Linked DNA regions of Homo sapiens: region 1 is linked to region 2. The links are contacts of gene promoters, found by promoter capture Hi-C in blood cells and fetal thymus (Javierre and others, 2016). All regions are on one chromosome and are shown on one strand. Each heading gives the region's core, a stretch centred on a gene start or on the middle of the fragment in contact. The rest is flanking DNA. Distances are from core to core; before and after follow the strand shown.

The links. Contacts are between HindIII fragments. The CHiCAGO score rates a contact against its expected background, and 5 or more counts as called.
Region 1: a contact is called between a fragment that was not itself captured here and the fragment with the promoter of NDUFA2 in region 2, in 1 of 17 cell types (erythroblasts). The highest score is 5.5, in erythroblasts.

What each region holds. Positions count from the first base shown.
Region 1 is chr5:141,629,514-141,633,064 of GRCh38, forward strand. HDAC3 (histone deacetylase 3) reads right to left here. Exons shown (of 15, transcript NM_003883.4): 4 at 531-612; 5 at 347-403; 6 at 171-226. Among named protein-coding and RNA genes, the nearest start is that of HDAC3, 5.6 kb to the right of the region's middle. The HindIII fragment of the contact is 184 bases long and covers 1,892-2,075 here.
Region 2 is chr5:140,646,372-140,650,038 of GRCh38, forward strand. It overlaps NDUFA2 (NADH:ubiquinone oxidoreductase subunit A2), which reads right to left and starts at 1,259. Exons shown (of 3, transcript NM_002488.5): 1 at 1,112-1,259; 2 at 885-991. The coding sequence starts at 1,212. IK (IK cytokine) reads left to right here and starts at 1,458. Exons shown (of 20, transcript NM_006083.4): 1 at 1,458-1,553; 2 at 2,100-2,166. The coding sequence starts at 1,538. It overlaps MIR3655 (microRNA 3655), which reads left to right and starts at 1,473; the gene lies at 1,473-1,555. It also overlaps a transcript of TMCO6 not described here. RefSeq lists enhancers at 837-1,256, 997-1,532. The HindIII fragment of the contact is 1,275 bases long and covers 51-1,325 here.

The DNA.
Region 1 (3,551 bases), core at 734-3,233, 980 kb after region 2:
TGAGCAGGCAGTAGGGAATCTGCAGCAGTGGAAGAGGCAGCCTGAATAAAGCATCAAGAACTTGGGAGAAGCTAATCAGGGAGGAGGGAGGTCAAGGTCAGGGTTGAGACTGAGAGACCTCCTCAGCCAAGAATCCCGTAACTGCCCCCATCTCCTCCTGGGCTACTTACTTGAGCAGCTCCAGGATGCCAATCACAATGTCGTTGACATAGCAGAAGCCAGAGGCCTATGGCAAGACAGTGGTCTCATAAAGAGAAGAGCAATTCCCCTCCCAGCTGCCCCCCACCATCATCCTAAACACCTACCCTAGGATGGCCACTGTCTTTCCCATCACCTCCTCACTCACCTCAAACTTCTTGGCATGGTGCAGACCACCAGCCCAGTTAATGGCAATATCACAGATCTGAAAGACAAACACCTAAGTCACAGTCCTTCCTGCCCACCCCTCAAGCTGGGAGCCCAGGATCAGGGTTAAATCCCGAGTCCAGGGATCCAGAGGAAAGGAAGAACAGGACTCGGGACTATGTCACCTTGTTGTTCAGCTGGGTTGCTCCTTGCAGAGATGCGCCTGTGTAACGCGAGCAGAACTCAAAGAGCCCGGGAAACACTGGGCTGCAGGGAAGAGGAACAAGTTGGAACCCTCCTGCCTCTGTCTGGGCCCTTCCCATATCTCCCTCCCCATCCTAGATTCCTCCAATCTCCATTTTTCAAGAACCTTCTCTCCCTCTCCTACACACGTGGGCTATCTGCAAATTTATTCAACAAATATTTTGGACCAAACCATGTACCAAGCCCTGTGCAAGGCACTGGATGGGAAGTAAAGAAGCACTTAACTGTCAGGGAGTTTGTATCCTAGCTGCGGAAAGAAGCAAGCAGCTTCCAGGTACTCAAGTACAATGTAAAAAGGAAATCAGTTGAAAGAAAACATGAGCTCTGTTTTTCTTAGTCTTCTCAGTGTAACAAATTTTAGCATAATGTTCAATAATATTTTTCAGTCACATATTTTAAAGAAAGAACTGTATACCTACATATGTGAAACAGTGATGAGATAACCCACGAAAAGCCTGTAGCACAGTATACAGTATCCGCTCAGCCTTTAATAAATGTCAGCTATAATTATTACCATTGTTATTCTTTATAAAAAGTAAAGGCTTGAAGCCAGACACAAAAGCCTACTTACTGTATGACTCCATTTATGTAACATTCTGGAAAAGGTAAAATACAAGGACAGACATCTTATCAGTAGTTGGCTGGATCTAGGTTGCAGAGAAGTTATTAACTACAAAAGGGTGAGTGACCTTTGTTGGGTAGTGGAAATTTCCTGTACCTTGATACCTTTTTTTTTTTTTTTTTTGTAGAGACAGGGTCTCACTATGTTGCCCAAGCTGGTCTCAAACTCCTGGGCCTAAGTGATCCTCCCGCCTTGGCCTCCCAAATTGTTGGGACTACAGGTGTGAGCCATCGGCGCTGGCCCTATACCTTGATATATTCTATCAAACCTCTCAGAACTCTTACACCTAAAAAAGGTTAATTTTACTGTATGCAAGTTATACCTATATAAACCTGACTTTTTAAAAAGGAAAGGCTTAGGCAATCCCTAGTTTTAGGTCTCAAAAAAAAAAAATAGTGCAGCTGATACATTTGACCATGTGAAAAACAGAACTGTAGGGGTTTTTTGTTTGTTTGTTTTTTGAGATGGGGTCTTGCTCTGTCGCCCAGGCTGGGGTGCAATGGTGCGATCTCGGCTCACTGCAGCCTCCGCCTCCCGGGTTCAAGCAAGAATTGTAGGGTTTTATAGTTTCTCAAAAGGCTTGGAAAGAATTAGTGATTAATACCAGAAAACTAAGCAAATGAAAAAATAATGCAATTGTCAGCTCCAGGAAAAACAAAAAGCTTTAGAAGAAAATAGATTAAATCACACTACACTATTTGGCTTGATAGTAAATGAATCTTTCAGAGTTATAATAATGTAAACACAGAATACTGATTTATTTTTAAATTACTATGAAGCTGAAAGGGGAAAGGAAGCCAATGTGATGGTGTAAGAAGACTAAATGCTCATATCCCATACTAAAAGCTTAACAGATAATGCCTAAAATTGACAGACGAAGAAATAGCAATGAGAGACAATACAGGAGGGGAGTATGATTACAAGCACCGATTCTGGAGCTAGACTACCTAGGTTCTTTAACACCTACTAATGATAGTGAGGTTGTACAAACTGTTTAACCTTTCTGTGCTTAAGTGTCCTCATCGGTAAAAGGAAACAATAATAGACCCTGCTTCATAGGGGTTGTTGAGATTAAATAAGCTAATGGCTGTAAAGCACTTAGAACAGTACCTAGTATATAACAGGTATTACCTAAGGATTACAGATTAGTAATAACAGTCAATTAATATTATTATTTAGAAATCCAAAGGTAAATACCAGAAGACATAGGGGAAAGGAGCTGAAAGTGGCTGTCACTGGGCAGAGGGATTTATGGGTGAAAAGGAGAGGTCTGGAATTTTTTTTTTTTTTTTTTTTTAAGACAGAGTCTCACTCTGTTGCCCAGGCTGGAGTGCAGTGGTGCAATCTCAGGTCACTGCAACCTCCAACTCCCGGGTTCAAGCAATTCTCCTGCCTCAGCCTCCTGGAGTAGCTGGGACTACAGGCACGTGCCACCACACATGACTAATTTTTGTATTTTTAGTAGAGATGGGGTTTCACCATGTTGGCCAGGCTGGTCTTGAACTCCTGACCTTAGGTGGTCCACCCGCCTCGGCCTCCGAAAGTGCTGGGATTACAGGCGTGAGCCACTGCGCCCGGCTTGGGACTACTTTTTTATTTTTTTCATTTAAAGGCCTATAGTACAATTTGGCTACTTATGTTAGAATACTTTGAAACCAATCAGAAATTCATTAAACAGAAGAAAAATTCCTGATTCTCATCGGAAATACAGATAAGCACAACTGTAACTTGTTTGACAGGAAGACTGATGCAGCATAAATAGCCCAGAGATAGTATTCTAATTAGCATTCCCTAATCGCACAAAGAGCATCTACGGGACCCCAGTGTGGCGTAAGGGCTGACCCTGTATTCACAGAGCTAGAAAGTGAGCTCAGAAATAACAGCAGGAATACTAACAAAAAAACAAGAAACCTCCCCAAACAGCATGTGACTGAACACCAAATGAGCAGTGCAGTGTGTGCAAGACAGAGCTCTATGGGCTGGTGTGGTCAAGAAAGGTTTCATGGAGATGGTGTGAAGGCTGAGAAGGCCTTGAAGAGGTTGAATAGAGAACTAAGGGCATTCCAGGAAGGCATCCTGTGCAGCTGAGGTGTAGGGATAAAGTTGGAAAGGTGCCAATGCCAGCCTAATGAGTTGGCCTCTATCCTACAGCCCTGGCTGCTTCTGTCATTAAGATCTTTCAGGAAAACAGATTAGTGGTTTAAAAACCCGGGATCTGGATCATGCCCCCTCCAATGACCAGTTATGTGACTACGGCTAAGTTACCTAGATATTCCCAAACCTCAATTTACTTATATATAACATCAGAAAAAGGTCTATT
Region 2 (3,667 bases), core at 9-2,508:
AGTTACTCGTGTCTATCTCCTCCTGTAGTCTACTGGCTTTTGGAAGGAGAAGCTTTTTTCCTTCTCCAATTATTAGTGCATGTCTAATGTCTACTGTGTCTCACAGATATCTACTCTGAGAACCAATCTGCTTAAGGTGGTCACTCTCCTCCACCTCCTCCCGTCATTCCCAGGGCACCATATAGTTAAAAGCTGTGATTAAAATCCTGTTATTCAGTATGTATAAACATTTATTGCATACCTACAATGTGTTAGGCAACATGATAGGAAAATTTCATTTTGCAATACATTGCCATGCCAGTCTTAGAGGGGTAAGTGCATTCTAGGAAGGGGAATAAATGTAAAGGCTCAATCCTGTTAAACTCTAGCTGCATCTAAAGTTGCAGCTAGAGTTTAACAATAGTGCAAAACAAAGTTTTGATTCCGTTTTCTAATCTCTACAGTGAGAAAAGAAGAACACGCTTCCTCCTAACTAATGAAGATTAAATGAGTTAGGCAGGGAAGCACTCAGCACAGGGCCCAGCTCTATGTGCAAAATTACTGAGATTCTCACACACTACCTGGACTGACACTGGCTACACGTTATTTGGAGAAACTATATTGACTAACTTCTCTCCTGTCTGAAGCCCATTCTTAACTACAAAAACGTCAGCTCCTGGTCCCTACGCAGGATTCGGTCAGCCTGCATACTTATGTTGCCCGGAATACAACGCATCATATAACCCTGCGAATATAAATTTCTTCATGGAAACAAGATCAACAGCAAGGCTAAAGTCCGAGTTCTAGTTTCTCCACGGGTTTCTGCACGACCTTGGGCGGTCCCTTCTCTTCTCAAACCCTTGTTCCCCTACCGGAGCCCCAGACCCCTGGCGTCCCGCACTCACCGTAGCGGGCCCAGAGCTTGGGCTGCACATCGGAGCATTCGCGGATTAGGATGGGTAGGTCGGGATTCGCCTTCTTCAGCTCCACGTAGCGTTTCTCAATGAAGTCCCTGCGGGGCCGGAGAGAGCGCCGCGCGTGCTGTGGGCGGGGGCTTCCCTCAACTTCAGGGAGGTCGAGGTCGTGACCCTGGCGTCCCGAAGCCCGCCCGCCTCACCACGCCGCGCCTCACCTGACGCCCTGGCTGCCGGGCGAGCGCTGACATAAGTGGATGCGAATCTCACGCAGGCCCAGCTTTGCCCCGACTCCTCGACTTGCTGCGGCCGCCGCCATCCTTGTTAATATCGAAGTCGCCAATTCCAGGTCTTCAGGCCAAGTGCTCCGGTCTGACCAACCGCGGACCCTAAAGCCTAGCCCATAGGCTGCATGAGGCAGGGGCGGGGTAAAGCTTGGCCAATGATATAAAAGTATTGTAGGACCGCTGCGAGGTCAATTTCTTTGCGCTCGGGGTTGGTCGGAGGGAAAAACAGGAAGCGGAAAGGCTGCGAACGCAAAGCAGTGTGGGTTGATTCTGAGGTGCACTGTGGGAAAGAGCTTGTCGCTGCGGTGTTGCTGTTGGAGACTCGATTGTTGGTGACAGCGAAAGAACGATAACAAAATGCCGGAGCGAGATAGTAAGGCTCAGGCCATCCGTTATTTCTTCCCCATGGCACTTGGGGCACTTGGCGCATTATTGTAGCTTCTGAGCTTAAGCCGGGTGTGTGTGTGTGTGTGTGTGTGTGTGTGTGTGTGTGTATGTATGTATGTGTGACGCTTGAGCCCGGAGAAGCCACAGGGTCCTAAGTGAGGCCGACAGCTCCAAACTCCGTCCCCAGTCCTCACTCCTACTCCAAGTGATGATGGGCGGCTTTTGTGCGTGGATCGCTTTCCCCCAGTCCTGTCCCCATACTTAATCCTGGGTTGCGCGTATTTATCTTTTACGTAGTATTTTAGACGTGATCTTCCGGAAGTCTTCTCTGATCCTCCAGCGCAGGATTAGGGTCCTCTGCTTTGTGCTCCCACAGCTTCTTGTAGTTTCCTATTTCAGCACTTATTACATTGTGTTGACACTGTCGCTGTTCTAACTTTTGTTCTGTATTGTTCACTACTATATCTCAAATTTTTGCATAGGATCTGACACGTAAGAGACTGATTAAATTAACGTCAATTTTTTTTGTCAGGTGAGCCGTTCTCCAACCCTTTGGCCCCCGATGGCCACGATGTGGATGATCCTCACTCCTTCCACCAGTGAGTATTTTGTGCTAGGACCATGGAAATGAGTTGGGCAATGAATAGAAAAGTGGTGGTGATGGTGAAAGAATTCTGAATGTCTTGTCATCAAGGATGGTAAAAAATTATACCCGCTGGCCCTTTATCTCTGTGAGCCTTAACTGGATCAGGCCAAGTGCATAAGGGTATTAGAAGGGAAATTCCTGCAGGAAAGGTGTTAAGTTTTTTTTTTTTTTTATACGTGTTGTGTAATTACACATTATATAGGAATTACTTCTTCCAATAGCAAATTAAAACATAGGAAATAAGGGTAAAATCATCTTTTTATTTTTTTTGAGACTGAGTTTCGCTCTTGTTGCTCAGGCTGGAATGCAGTGGTGCGATCTCGGCTCACCACAACCTCCGCCTCCCGGGTTCAAGCAATTCTCCTGCCTCAGCCTTCCGAGTAGCTGGGATTACAGGCATGTTCCACTACGCCCGGCTAATTTTGTATTTTTAGTAGAGATGGGGTTTCTCCATGTTGATCAGGCTGGTCTTGAAATCCCGACTTCAGGTGATCCACCCGCCTCTGCCTCCCAAAGTGGTGGGAGTACAGGCGTGAGCCACCGTGCCTGGCCCCCGATAAAATCATCTTTGATAACATCCCCAATTCCAGTCCATTTCTTTTTTTTTTTCTTTTCTTTTCTTTTCTTTCTTTTTTTTTTTTTTTGAGACGGAGTCTCACTGTTACCCAGGCTGGAGTGCAGTGATGCAATCTTGGCTCACTGCAACCTCTGCCTCCTGAGTTCAAGCGGTTCTCCTGCCTCAGCCTCCCAAGTAGCTGGGACTACAGGCATGTGCCACCATGCACGACTGATTTTTTTTTTTGTATTTTTAGTAGAGACAGGGTTTCACTGTGTTCGTCAGGCTGGTCTTGAACTCCTGGCCTGAAGTGATCCACCCGCCTCAGCCTCCTAAAGTGCTGGCATTACAGGCGTGAGCCACCGTGCCCAGCCTCAGTCCTTTTCTTAGAAGTAACCACAGTTACCTTTTTTGGCATATCTTTTCCTCCCGTTGCCCAGGCTGGAGTTCAATGGCATTATTTCTGCTCACAGCAACCTTTGCCTCCTGGGCTCAAGCAATTCTTCTGCCTCAGTTTCCCCAGTAGCTGGGATTACAGGCATGCCCCACCATGCTTGGCTAATTTTTGTATTAGTAGAGACAGGGTTTCGCTATGTTGGCCAGGCTGGTCTTGAACTCCTGACCTCAAATGATCTGCCCGTCTCGGCGGCCCAAAGTGCTGGGATTACAGGCGTGAGCCACTGCGCCTGGCCCTCCTACTCTTTTTTAAATGCATTTATACACATACATGCATATCTGAGGAAAACACAACATTGCTTTGTGATTTAAAATATTTGAGTTAAATGATATTATGCTGTATATATCATTTTTGCAACTTGCTTCTTTTTAAACCCTGCTCAGTGTTTCTGAGATTATCTTTCAGAGCAGTGACAAGCATTCCCTCCTTGGCTAAACTTTA